Linked DNA regions of Homo sapiens: region 1 is linked to region 2. Evidence: promoter capture Hi-C in human tissues and cell types (Jung and others, 2019). All regions are on one chromosome and are shown on one strand. Each heading gives the region's core, a stretch centred on a gene start or on the middle of the fragment in contact. The rest is flanking DNA. Distances are from core to core; before and after follow the strand shown. Region 1 overlaps CALM2 (calmodulin 2). Region 2 holds the start of MSH2 (mutS homolog 2).

Region 1 (5,720 bases), core at 811-3,310, 240 kb after region 2:
TATTTTTAGGAGAGATGGGGTTTCACCATGTTGGCCAGGCTGGTCTTGAACTGCTGACGTCAGGTGATCCGCTTACCTTGACCTCCCAAAGTGTTGGGATTACAGGCATGAGCCACTGCTCCCGGCCTAAAATTTTTTATATTACTTGGTCGTATAAAGCATTCCAGTCTAGTATGACATCACTAACAATTTCATTTTGTTGATAACTCTGCCATGATGTCATTAGTTGTTGCTGTTTGACTTTTGGAAGACTGATAGGAAAAATGTACAGTATTTTTTCCTTAAGAAGTCTGTACCTAAACTTTCATTAAATTTTCAAGGTCCAAATTTGTTTGAGAAAAATATTAATATTACTCAATGTATAGCAACAACTGCATGAAGCGCCAAAAGAGTTCCAGTACATGATCTTTAAGGGATTATTAAGTTCAGAATTTTGTGAAGAAATAGAAGTTAATAAACAGTCATTTGATTTGTTTTGTAATTGTCTTGTGATAACCTATTTTAATAAAATTTTTAAAACATGTTATTTTAATAAAATTATATGTTTAGGTAATAAACTAATTAGGGAAGGGCCTTGGGGTTGCTAATGAACAAATAAAACTTGAGTAATAGATTTTTCTGAAAGTTTCAGTTTGGTCAGCTAAAATGGATTTTGGTAGGTTCCTTATATCTATCAATTATGTAGAAGATAGCTGTTCTGTGGCATTCAGGACCTGTTCTCTTTATTGTGTGTTTAGGTTTTGACTCTTGGATTTAATTTCAGGTCATTCCTGGGAGTTACAGTTTAGAATTATATGCTTCTATACATAAAGATTACGCTAGTTCTGAAGTACAGGAAAACTGTAAAGGCAGGTGAATTAAAATTTTACTTTGGGGTTTATTATTTTGAGTTTTTACAGGTATTTTTTACTCTTTAGTATAAAAATACAAGTAAAAATTTGGAATAAACCTTGACCTTTAAAAGAAATGTTATTTGTTCCTTTCTTGAATGAATAACAAATGGTATTAGCATAGATACGGTTTTATTTTCTGCATTTTACTTATTCTAGCAAACATTTTAAGTGTTATTAGATTTTTAAATTTCTCGAAAGTTATACATAGTCTTACACTATGCATCTTCCAGTATTTAGCTTTTTGTTAAATCATGTAATAGAAAGGTGATTACTGCTAATTAAACATTGGGAATTTATGCACCTAATGGTGGTGTTAAAAGATACCCATAGCAGAGAATGTAATATAAACAAATACCTCAAAGTCCTTTAATTTTCTTGTAACCTAAATTAGGTGAAAGGTGCAATGTGTCTGAACTCCAATATATGTATTTCTAGATATTTCTACATTCTGTTTAAAAACAGTAAAATTGAAATGTCTTTATCAATTGTGCTATTTGTAGGTGGAGACTCCCTGATCTATTTTTGTCATTAGGTTGATCTAGGTTAGCACTGTATACTATCTTCATAAAATCAATTAGTGTGGTATGAACCTTCTGATTGGTATTAGATGAGTTCCTCTATAAACCAGTAATATTTAAATAAGAAAGAATGCAGTTAGGAGGCAATTGTAATAGCCCTGGCAAAGGACGATGGAGCCTTGAACCAAAATACTGGTTGTAGAGATGGAGGAAAAATCAGGCAGTATTTAAATGATAGAATTCGAGACCTGTTGACAGATTTCAGACTGAAAGAGTTAAAAGTGGCTCTTGGGCTTTTGCTAGTACCTTTAGGGTTGCCTGGGAGTATAGAATTCATTTTCATATGTTTTGCTTGTCATCAGCCAGGGGAGCTATATCCTGTAGACAGCCAGAAATAAAGACATTTATTGAGCGAGATGGGTAGACTAAAGATATCTTCGTTGTAAGTGGGTATAGATGAAGTGGCCAAGGAGTGGAAAAAAAGGATAAAATTGGTCACATCTAGACATAAGAGACAGGAGTAAGAGCCTTTGGCAGTATATGGTAGGAGGAAAATCAAAGTACTGTTACGAAGGCCAAGAAAAATTTTGAGAGTTTTTCCATGCAGTTTTGGATGCTGCAAAAAAATGAGATAGTCTTTATCTTGACATTTATTAAGTATGTATTTGTTGGACATAGTTCTAAGTGTTTGACACATACTAATTTTTTTATGGGGGGTGACCAGGTGAATACCCCTTGTGGGCATGGTATACTGTGTCACCCCACTTACTGGGCACATTTATGTCATTTCACAGAAATGAGGAAGCTGAGGCAGAAAAGGTTTAGTAGCTTGTCCATATTGCATTGCCAGAAGAAGAAACAGAGCTAGGAAATTCTAACCCAGTAGTCAAGTTACAAAGTCTCATTTTAGTTTCTATGCCATATGGCTTCACATTGAAGCATGCTTGATGGATTGGGTGACTGACTAGTAGTCATTGGTAAACTCAGCATTTTCAGGTGATGAGTTGGAGCTGGATGTCATTTTAAAATAGTGGATTGTTTGGAGAGAGGAAATTGGTATGAGTAGTAGTGCCTTCCAAAATTTGGGGAGGGATAAGGGCAAGCATTTAAAATATAACTAAGGTTTCAATTTAGTTTTAGGCTAAGCGATGTGAAGATATTTATGTGGTAATGGGCAAATTAGTGGAAGAATAGTTGAGTCCAGGGAAGAGGTAATACGGAATGAAACTGGAAGGTGTACGCGAATTGGAGTTAGGGATAAGCAGGCAGGGAATAAATTGGCCTTGGACCGTAAAGAAGGTACACCATTTCTTACACATGTGTCACATAAATTTTCAAATGTATGGCTATGTTGGGAAAGCTTAATGGCCCAATGAACTTGGAAACTTTTTGTATTCATTTGCTGATAGGGTCTAATATTTTCTGGGAAATGACTTACTTGGAAAATACTAGCTTTATTATTTACTGATTGGTATAACTTTGCAGTATCAAAGTTAGTCTGTTTTAGTTTCTTTCTTTCTTTTTTTTTTTTTGAGACAAGTCTCACTCTGTTGCCCAAGCTGGAGTGCAGTGGTGTGATCTCGGCTCACTGCAACCTCCGCCTCTCGGGTTCAAGCAGTTCTGCTGCTGCAGCCTCCCCAGTAGCTGGGACTACAGGCGCACGCCGCCACACCCAGCTTGTGTGTGTGTTTGTGTTTTAATAGAGACGGGGGACTACAGGCCCACGCTGCCACACCCAGCGTGTGTGTGTGTGTGTGTGTGTGTGTGTGTGTGTGTGTGTTTTAGTAGAGACGGGGGACTACAGGCACACGCCGCCACACCCAGCTTGTGTGTGTGTGTGTTTTAGTAGAGACGGGGTTTCTTTTCTTTTTCTTCTTTTTTTTTTTTTTTGAGACGGAGTCTCGCTCTGTCGCCCAGGCTGGAGTGCAGTGGCGCAATATCAGCTCACTGCAAGCTCTGCCTCCCAGGTTCACGCCATTCTCCTGCCTCAGCCTCCCGAGTAGCTGGGACTATAGGCGCCCGCCACCACGCCCGGCTAATTTTTTTGTATTTTTAGTAGAGATGGGGTTTCACCGTGTTAGCCAGGATGGTCTCGATCTCCTGACCTCATGATCCACCCGCCTCAGCCTCCCAAAGTGCTGGGATTACAGGCTTGAGCCACCGCGCCCGGCCTGAGACGGGGTTTCACCCTGTTGTTCAGGCTGGTCTGGAACTCACCCTGAGCTCAGGCAGTCTGCCCACCTTGGCCTCCCAAAGTGCTAGGATTACAGGTGTGAGCCACTGCACCTGGCTTGTTTTAGTTTATCTGTAAATGGTGAATGAAGCCAGGTAGTCTGGAGTGTTGCACCAGCAGGAGGTTTCCATGTAATCTAGTGATGTATTAGAAGGAACATATAGCCGGGCACAGTGGCTCATGCCCTGTAATCCCAGCACTTTGGGAGGCAGAGACAGGCGGATCACCTGAGGTTGGGAGTTCGAGGCCAGCCTGACCAACGTGGAGAAACCCCATCTCTACTAAAAATAGAAAATTAGCTGGGCGTGGTGGTGCATGCCTGTAATTCCAGCTACTCGGGAGGCTGAGGCAGGAGAATTGCTTGATCCTGGGAGGAGGAGGTTGCGGTGGGCTGAGATTGCACCATTGCACTCCAGCCTGGACAACAAGAGCGAAAGTCCATCTCAAAAAAAAAAACAACAGCAGGAAGGAACATACTATCACAACAAGATGTTGAGGAATAATCAGTTTCACTATATAAGGTTGGGGTTTTAATATTCCAAAGAAAGCTCAAAATGATCTTTGTTCTCAGTGACATGCATTTAGCTAAAACTGGACATTTATATCTTGATCAGCCCATTGTTATAGACTCTTTATATAGTCCCTTCTCCTGCCTTACTAGAAAGGGAAAGTAGCCTGTTTTAATTTAGTAGGTGATTGATTTAGACATAGTGGCTAACTCTAAACACAGTATACAGAAACAGTTTAATTACTCTGTAGAAATACGTATTTGGGTACCAGTAGTCTTATTTTTGTTTTGTGAGTGTAGGTTAGGTCTGTAATTTTGAATTATGTTCCACAGAGCAGCTTCAGTGACAGAGGAGCCAGTCATTTGGGGATTTGGTTCTTTTCCTCTGTAAACCTAGGATAATTTTACTTAGGTCAGCATGAAAGTACAGTGGTATGATTGGTCAAAGATATATTTGAAATATTATCATAAGGTATCATAAAGATTGGTTAATCTTTAGGAGTCAAAGTCACATTTCAATTGCTACCTCCATTGGTATTTTTCCGTTAAAAGTTTTTGGGTTTTTCTGAGACGTGGGGTCTTACAGTTTGGCCAGGCTGAAGTGCAGTGGCTGTTCACTGGCACGATCCCACCACTGAGTAGGCTTTAAGAGTTAATACGTTTCATTTAGGTTACATTTTATTATTAATCTGTGTATTTGGATTGTGGTCTTTCTTTCAAACAGAATTCAAAGAAGCTTTTTCACTATTTGACAAAGATGGTGATGGAACTATAACAACAAAGGAATTGGGAACTGTAATGAGATCTCTTGGGCAGAATCCCACAGAAGCAGAGTTACAGGACATGATTAATGAAGTAGATGCTGATGGTAAGTCTTCAATTTTGTGGGGCTGGGAGGGGTTGAAGAAGTGATACTTAGATGTTTCCACTAAACCTTTGCTGTTTGCTTATATGTTTCCACTAAAGCTTTGATGTTTCCACTAAACCATTTCAGGTAATGGCACAATTGACTTCCCTGAATTTCTGACAATGATGGCAAGAAAAATGAAAGACACAGACAGTGAAGAAGAAATTAGAGAAGCATTCCGTGTGTTTGATAAGGTACGTCAAGGACTGGATATGTTAAATTTTGAGGATGAAATGAAGATACCAGGACTCATTATGAAGACTTGTGTTTTTTTGGTTGTTTTTTTTTTTTTTTTTTTTTTTTTTTTTGATGATTTACCAACATATTTTAATTACCAAGCAAAAGCTTTTTAAGAATTCAGTATAGACTTTCTAATATATGTATTGCGTTCATCTTGTCAAAGGAGGTGTCACTTGACTTTGGGACTAGGAAATAATGATTTCAATGTAGGACATTTTGCTTGGCTCTTAATGACATTTGTAGGTCAACTGTGTAGATTTGTATGCATTTCTAAAGTATGTTTTTCCCCCAATGTGAAATTTAGTAGTAAACTTAATAAATTTCCATTCCAACTCTCAAGTCTGTAATTTGACTCAGAAACTATACTAAATTTTTTGCTAGGATGGCAATGGCTATATTAGTGCTGCAGAACTTCGCCATG
Region 2 (5,968 bases), core at 2,449-4,948:
ATGCCTTTAACAGCACCCAAGTCACCTCTTGAATGCTTTGCTGCTTAGAAATTTCTCCCACCAGATACCCAAAATCATTTCTCTCAAGTTCAAAGCTCCACAAATCTCTAGGGCAGGGCAAAATGCCACCAGTCTCTTTACTAAAACATAACAAGTGTCACCTTTGCTCCAGTTCCCAACAAGTTCCTCATCTCCATCTGAGACCACATGAGCCTGGATTTCATTGTCCATATCATTATCAGGATTTTGGTCAAAGCCATTGAACAAGTCTCTAGGAAGTTCCAAACTTTCCCACATTTTCTGGTCTTCTTCTGAGCCCTCTAAACTGCTCTGACCTCTGCCTGTTACCCAGCTCCAAAGTTGCTTCCATATTTTCGGGTATCTTTTCAGCTGCATCCCACTCTATTGGTATCAGTTTACTGTTTTAGTCTGTTTTCACGCTGCTAATAAAGACATACCCAGCTGGGTAGGTAATCCCAGCTCTTTGGAAGGCGGAGGCGGGAAGATCACGAGGTCAAGAGATCAAGACCATCCTGGCCAACACAGTGAAACTCCGTCTCTATTAAAAATACAAAAATTAGCTGGGCATGGTGGCGTGCACCTATAGTCCCAGCTACTTGGGAGGCTGAGGCAGGAGAATCGCTTGAACCCGGGAGGCGGAGGCTGCAGTGAGTCGAGATCGCACCACTGCACTCCAGCCTAGCCACAGAGCCAGACTCTGTCTCAAAAAAAAATAAAAAAAGACATACCTGAGACTGGGCAATTTACAAAAGAACGAAGTTTAATGACTCTGCAGCCAGTTCCACATGGCTGAGGAGGCCTCACAATCATTGAGGAAGGCAAGGAGGAGCAAGTTACATCTTACATGGATGGCGGCAGGCAAAGAGAGAGAGCCTGTGCAGGGAAACTCCCATTTTTAAAACCATCAGATCTTGTGAGGCTTATTCACTACCAGGAGAACAGCACAGGAAAAACCTGCCCACATGATTCAATTATGTCCCACCAGGTACCTCCCACAAAACATGGGAATTCAAGATGAGATAAGGGTGGGAACACAGCCAGACCATATCAAGCACCTAACACAATGCTAACCCAAAAACTTCCAGTGTTTTCTCAGTAATTTATTCATTCATTAAATTGTTTATGAAGCACCTATTATATGTGCAGGGACTATGGAAGGTAATAAATAGTGAATAAGCATAGACCCTCTGCTTATATGGAGTCTACACATAAAAATCGTAAGTTCTAAAGGTAACTTTTTAATTTTTTTGTAGAGATGGGTCTCGCTATGTTACACAGGCTAGTCTTCAACTCCTAGCATCAAGCAATCCTCCCACCTTGGCATCCCTAAGTGCTGGAACGAACCACTGCACTTGGTCTGTCCTTTCTTATAATTTTTTTTAAAGTCTTTTTTTTTTTTTTTTTTTTTTTTGAGATGGAGTCTCGCTCTGTTGCCCAGGCTGGAGTGCAGTGGCACAATCTCGGCTCACTGCAAGCTCTGCCTTCCGGGTTCACACCATTCTCCTGCCTCAGCCTCCCAAGTAGCTGGGACTACAGACACCTGCCACCGCACCCAGCTAATTTTTTGTATTTTTAGTAGAGACAGGGTTTCACAGTGTTAACCAGGATGGTCTGGATCTCCTGACCTCGTGATCCGCCCACCTCAGCCTCCCAAAGTGCTGGGATTTTTGTATTTTTAGTGTAGACAGGGTTTCACCATGTTAGCCAGGATGGTCTTGATCTCCTGACCTTGTGATCCGCCCACCTCAGCCTCCCAAAGTGCTGGGATTACAAGCGTGAGTCACTGCGCCCGCCCTGTTTTAAAGTCTTATGTAAAATCTATGTAGGTCAGGTGCAGTGGCTAATACCTGTAATCCCAGCACATCGGGAGGCCAAGGTGGGTGGATCACTTGAGGTCAGGAGTTTGAGACCAGCCTGGCCAACATGGTGAAACCCCATCTCTACTAAAAATACAAAAATTAGCTAGGCGTGGTGGCACGTGCCTGTAATCCCAGCTACTCCGGTGGCTGAGGCAGGAGAATCGCTTGAACCCAGGAGGTGGAGGTTGCAGTGAGCCAGGATTACACCACTGAACTCCAACCTGGGCGACACAGTAAGACTCCGTCTCAGAAAAAAAAAAAAAAAAAACATTTCAGACTTTTCATTGGCTACAGCATAAAATTTCAACAGCTCAACACCACACTAAAAGCCTTTGGTCATCTAACCCCACCCACCTGGGCCAGTCTCCTTCCTTTTCTACACCAGCAACGCCAATCTACCTCGTTTCAAGCCCTCTCCCTAGCAAACTTCTAGTCCACCAAGACTCAACGTGGACTTTGGTGTCTCATATAACGCCTCTTCCGTTGTATGAGACTCTTCCAAAGTCTTCCGTCTTTGGCGATCCTGCCTTGGCGCCTCTTGTAACCTCTTACAAGCTCACCTCCATAAGCCTCCAACTTGAATTGTAATTATTTCTGCCTTGCTGTCCAATAGTGATCTCTATGAAAGTAGAGGTATTTCTTTTTTCATCTAGTGTCCATAACCCTGCCTAACACATTTATATCTAACGAATGAAACATTTTTCATCAGGAGTATCGCATTTGCACTAGTCCTCTAGTCAGGACTAGAATCCACAACTCTGCTCCCCCTAGGATGCTCTTTTCATTAGCATAACTACATAGCTGCAAGAAAGCGCAAAGAAAACAGGGAGAGAAGAGGTTAACTAGGCCTATCCAGAACATTTGGCCCACATAGGGTGAGACGTTTGTAGCTTTCCAGGGAGAGATAATCCTGGATAGATGGGGTCGGGTGACGGAGAGCACTGAATGCTGAGCTGAAGCAGATAGCGTCCATGACTGGCCCAAGGTCACACGTTAATAAGCAGAGGGGCAGCGACTTGATCCCAAGCAGCCCAGCTCCAGAGTCCGTTGGTCCTGACCACTTCATCATACTGCTCTTCAACGGCGCTCCATTACCAGACCCTTAGCTGGACCGGCGGTATAAATGGGAGCGTCGTGGGAGCAGAATTACGTGTCATAAAAGGGTCTCCTAAACCCCCAGTCTATTTTAAATCTCACTCCTGGCTGCTGTTTGTTAATAAGAGATTCTGGCCGTGTTTGTAATGAGCGCTACATGTAGGGCCAAGGCGAGGAATGCGACTGCTGGAAAATGAACTAGAACAATGCATTAAAATGCCTGGCACGACGTAAACACTCCGTGATCACAAGTTCAGATCCGGGGCGGCTGGAGAGGCACGGGTTTCAGGGCTGAGGGGGGCGTCCCTCCGGAGCCAAGCAGAACCTGGGGACGGCGGAATCCGCACAAGCACCAACGTTCCGCCCCCGTGCCTCCGCACTGGAGAGGCTGCTCACCGCCCACTCTCTGAGGCGGGAAAGGAGCCGCGCCACAAGGCCCCGGGTCCCTCCCCAGCACGCGCCGTCCCGGCCCTCACCTGCCGGCCCCATGTACTTGATCACCCCCTGGGTCTTGAACACCTCCCGGGCGGCCAGCAGCGCGTCCTCGCCGTGCGCCGTATAGAAGTCGCCCCGGTCGAAAAGGCGCACTGTGGTGGTCGGCTTCTCCGGCATGCCCTGAAAGAAGCGCACGAAGCCGACCTCGGCCGCGCTCTCCAACTGCAGCGTCTCCTTCGGCTGCACCGCCATGTCGAAACCTCCTCACCTCCTGGTTGAAGAAAATGCGCGACCCCACACCCACTAAGCTGTTTCCCGCCTCCCCTCCCACGTCCCCCGAGCGGCGTCCGGCCACGGCGACCACACCCAATCAGCTTCCAGGGCTGCGTTTCGGTGGGTGGGAGTCTGCCGCGGCAACCAATCATAAGCAGACGCGGCCCAGCTTCCCGCGCACGCTGGTGACTTTAGCTACTGCGCATGCCTGCGCCTAGGTCGCGCGGAAACCCGCAGACGCGCATCCTTAGTAGAGCTCCTTTCTGTGTTTACTCAGCTGCAAGGCTTGAAGCCCCTGGGTGGGGTGTATGCAAGGGTAGGTTGCCACCAGGTGGGAGATTTCCGGCAGGCACTGAGCTCGTAATGTGCCCGGAAGCATGGGAGTAACATCAGAAGGAAACTTGAAAACAAAAAAAAAACTAGCCTTCCTCCTCCTCCCAGTATTTTGTTAAAACGTGTGCCCCTCTCCGACTGCCTCCCTTTTTCTTTCTAAGCAAACTGCCAACATCGGGATTACGGGTTTATTCTACACAGCCTCCTTACTGCTGCCTGTTAGCCACATTATCGTTTCATCCACTCGTTGATGATTCACTCATTCGAAAACATTTATATGGCCTGCTATGTCCCAGACTCTTCTTGGCTCTGAGGATCGCCAGTAAAAAGAAAAATCACTGCCTTTATTCTGCTTACATTCTAATATGAGAAAATTCAGATAATGAATATAGCAAGTAAATGAAATGGTACGTTAGAAGATATGCGTTTGTGGCAGGGCGCGGTAGCTCACGCCTGTAATCCCAGCAATTTGGGAGGCCGAGGTGGGCGGATCACTTGAGCCCAGGAGATTGACACCATCCTGGGCAACATGGTAAAACCCACGTCTGTGATCCCAGATATTAGCAGGGCTGAGGCGAAAGGATCACCTGAGCCCGGGAGGTCGAGGCTGCGGTGAGCCGTAAATTGTGCCACTGCACTCCAGCGTGGGCGACAGATTGAAAACCCTGTCTCAAAAAATACAAAATAAAATAAATAAAAAGACAAACGTTTGACGCCAGGCGTGGTGTCACACGCCATAATCCCAGTACTTTGGGAGCACGAGCCAGGAGGATCGTTTGAGCCCAGGAGGTCTTCTGCCGTCAGCTATGTTCACGCCACTGCACCGCAGCTGGGGCGACAGAGCGAGAGACCCCGTCTTGAGGGGGGGTAGGGGAAGACCAGTTAAGGAAGAGGAAGGTTGAAATTTTAAAATGTTAGCAAACAGCCAGGCGCAGTGGCTCACGCCTGTAATCCCAGCGTATTGGGAGGCCAACGCGGGTGGATCACCTGAGGTCCGGAGTTTGAGACCAGCCTGGCCAACATGGCGAAACCCCGTCTCTACTAAAAATACAAAAATTACCGGGCATAGTGGTGGGCGCCTGTAATCACAGCTACTCGAGAGGCTGAGGCAGGAGAATCTCTTGAACCTGGGAGGTGGAGGGGGCAGTGAGCGAAGATCGCGCCACTACACTCCAGCCTCGGTGACAGAGCGAGACTCTGTCTCAAAAAATAAATAAAATGTTATCAAACACCTGAAGGAGCTCAGGATCCATCCTGCAAAATTAACTCTTAGAAAAGGTTTTTGCTGGCCGGGCGCGGTGGCTCACGCCTGTAATCCCAGCACTTTGGGAGGCCGAGGCGGGCAGATCACCTGAGGTCAGGAGTTCGAGACCAGCCTGACTAACATGGTGAACCTCCGTCTCTACTAAAAACACACACAAAATTAGCCGGGTGTAGTGGTGGGCACCTGTAATCCCAGCTACTTGGGAGGCTGAGGCAGGAGAATCCCTTGAACCTGGGAGGTGGAGGTTGCAGTGAGCCGAGGTCGCGCCATTGCACTCCAGCCTGGGCAACAGGGTGAGACTCTGTCTCAAAAAAAAAAAAAAAAAAAAAAAAGGTTTTTGCATTCTCCAGTTTAGTTTACCCTTTCCCCATGGAAGTGGTTCCAAAACCTAATTCAGCAGCAGAATCACCCTGGGGAGGTGGGGGGGGATTTAAACATATTCCTGTGCCCAGCCCACACATAATGGGTCTTAATTTCTGGAGTAGAGCCTTGGAACCTTTGTTTGTTTTTTTGAGAGGAAGTCTGGCTCTGTCACCACACTGGAGTGCAGTGGCGCAATCTCGGCTCACTGCCTCCCGGGTTCAGGCGATCCTCCTGCCTCAGCTTCCCAAGTAGCTATGACTACAGGTGTGCACCACCACCCCCAGCTAATTTTGGTATTTTTAGGAGAGACGGGGTTTCACTGTGT

What was found. Contacts are between HindIII fragments. The study calls those that stand out against the background at their distance.
Region 1: a contact is called between a fragment that was not itself captured here and the fragment with the promoter of MSH2 in region 2, in 1 of the 25 tissues and cell types used here (hippocampus).

Annotation. Positions count from the first base shown.
Region 1 is chr2:47,161,819-47,167,538 of GRCh38, reverse strand. CALM2 (calmodulin 2) reads left to right here. Exons shown (of 6, transcript NM_001743.6): 3 at 4,877-5,020; 4 at 5,147-5,253; 5 at 5,681-5,720. Among named protein-coding and RNA genes, the nearest start is that of STPG4, 9.4 kb to the right of the region's middle. The HindIII fragment of the contact is 6,403 bases long and covers 1-5,261 here.
Region 2 is chr2:47,400,886-47,406,853 of GRCh38, reverse strand. MSH2 (mutS homolog 2) reads right to left here and starts at 3,698. Exons shown (of 16, transcript NM_000251.3): 1 at 3,452-3,698. The coding sequence starts at 3,662. RefSeq lists enhancers at 3,112-3,171, 2,538-3,246, 3,247-3,957, 3,962-4,011. The HindIII fragment of the contact is 21,211 bases long and covers 1-5,968 here.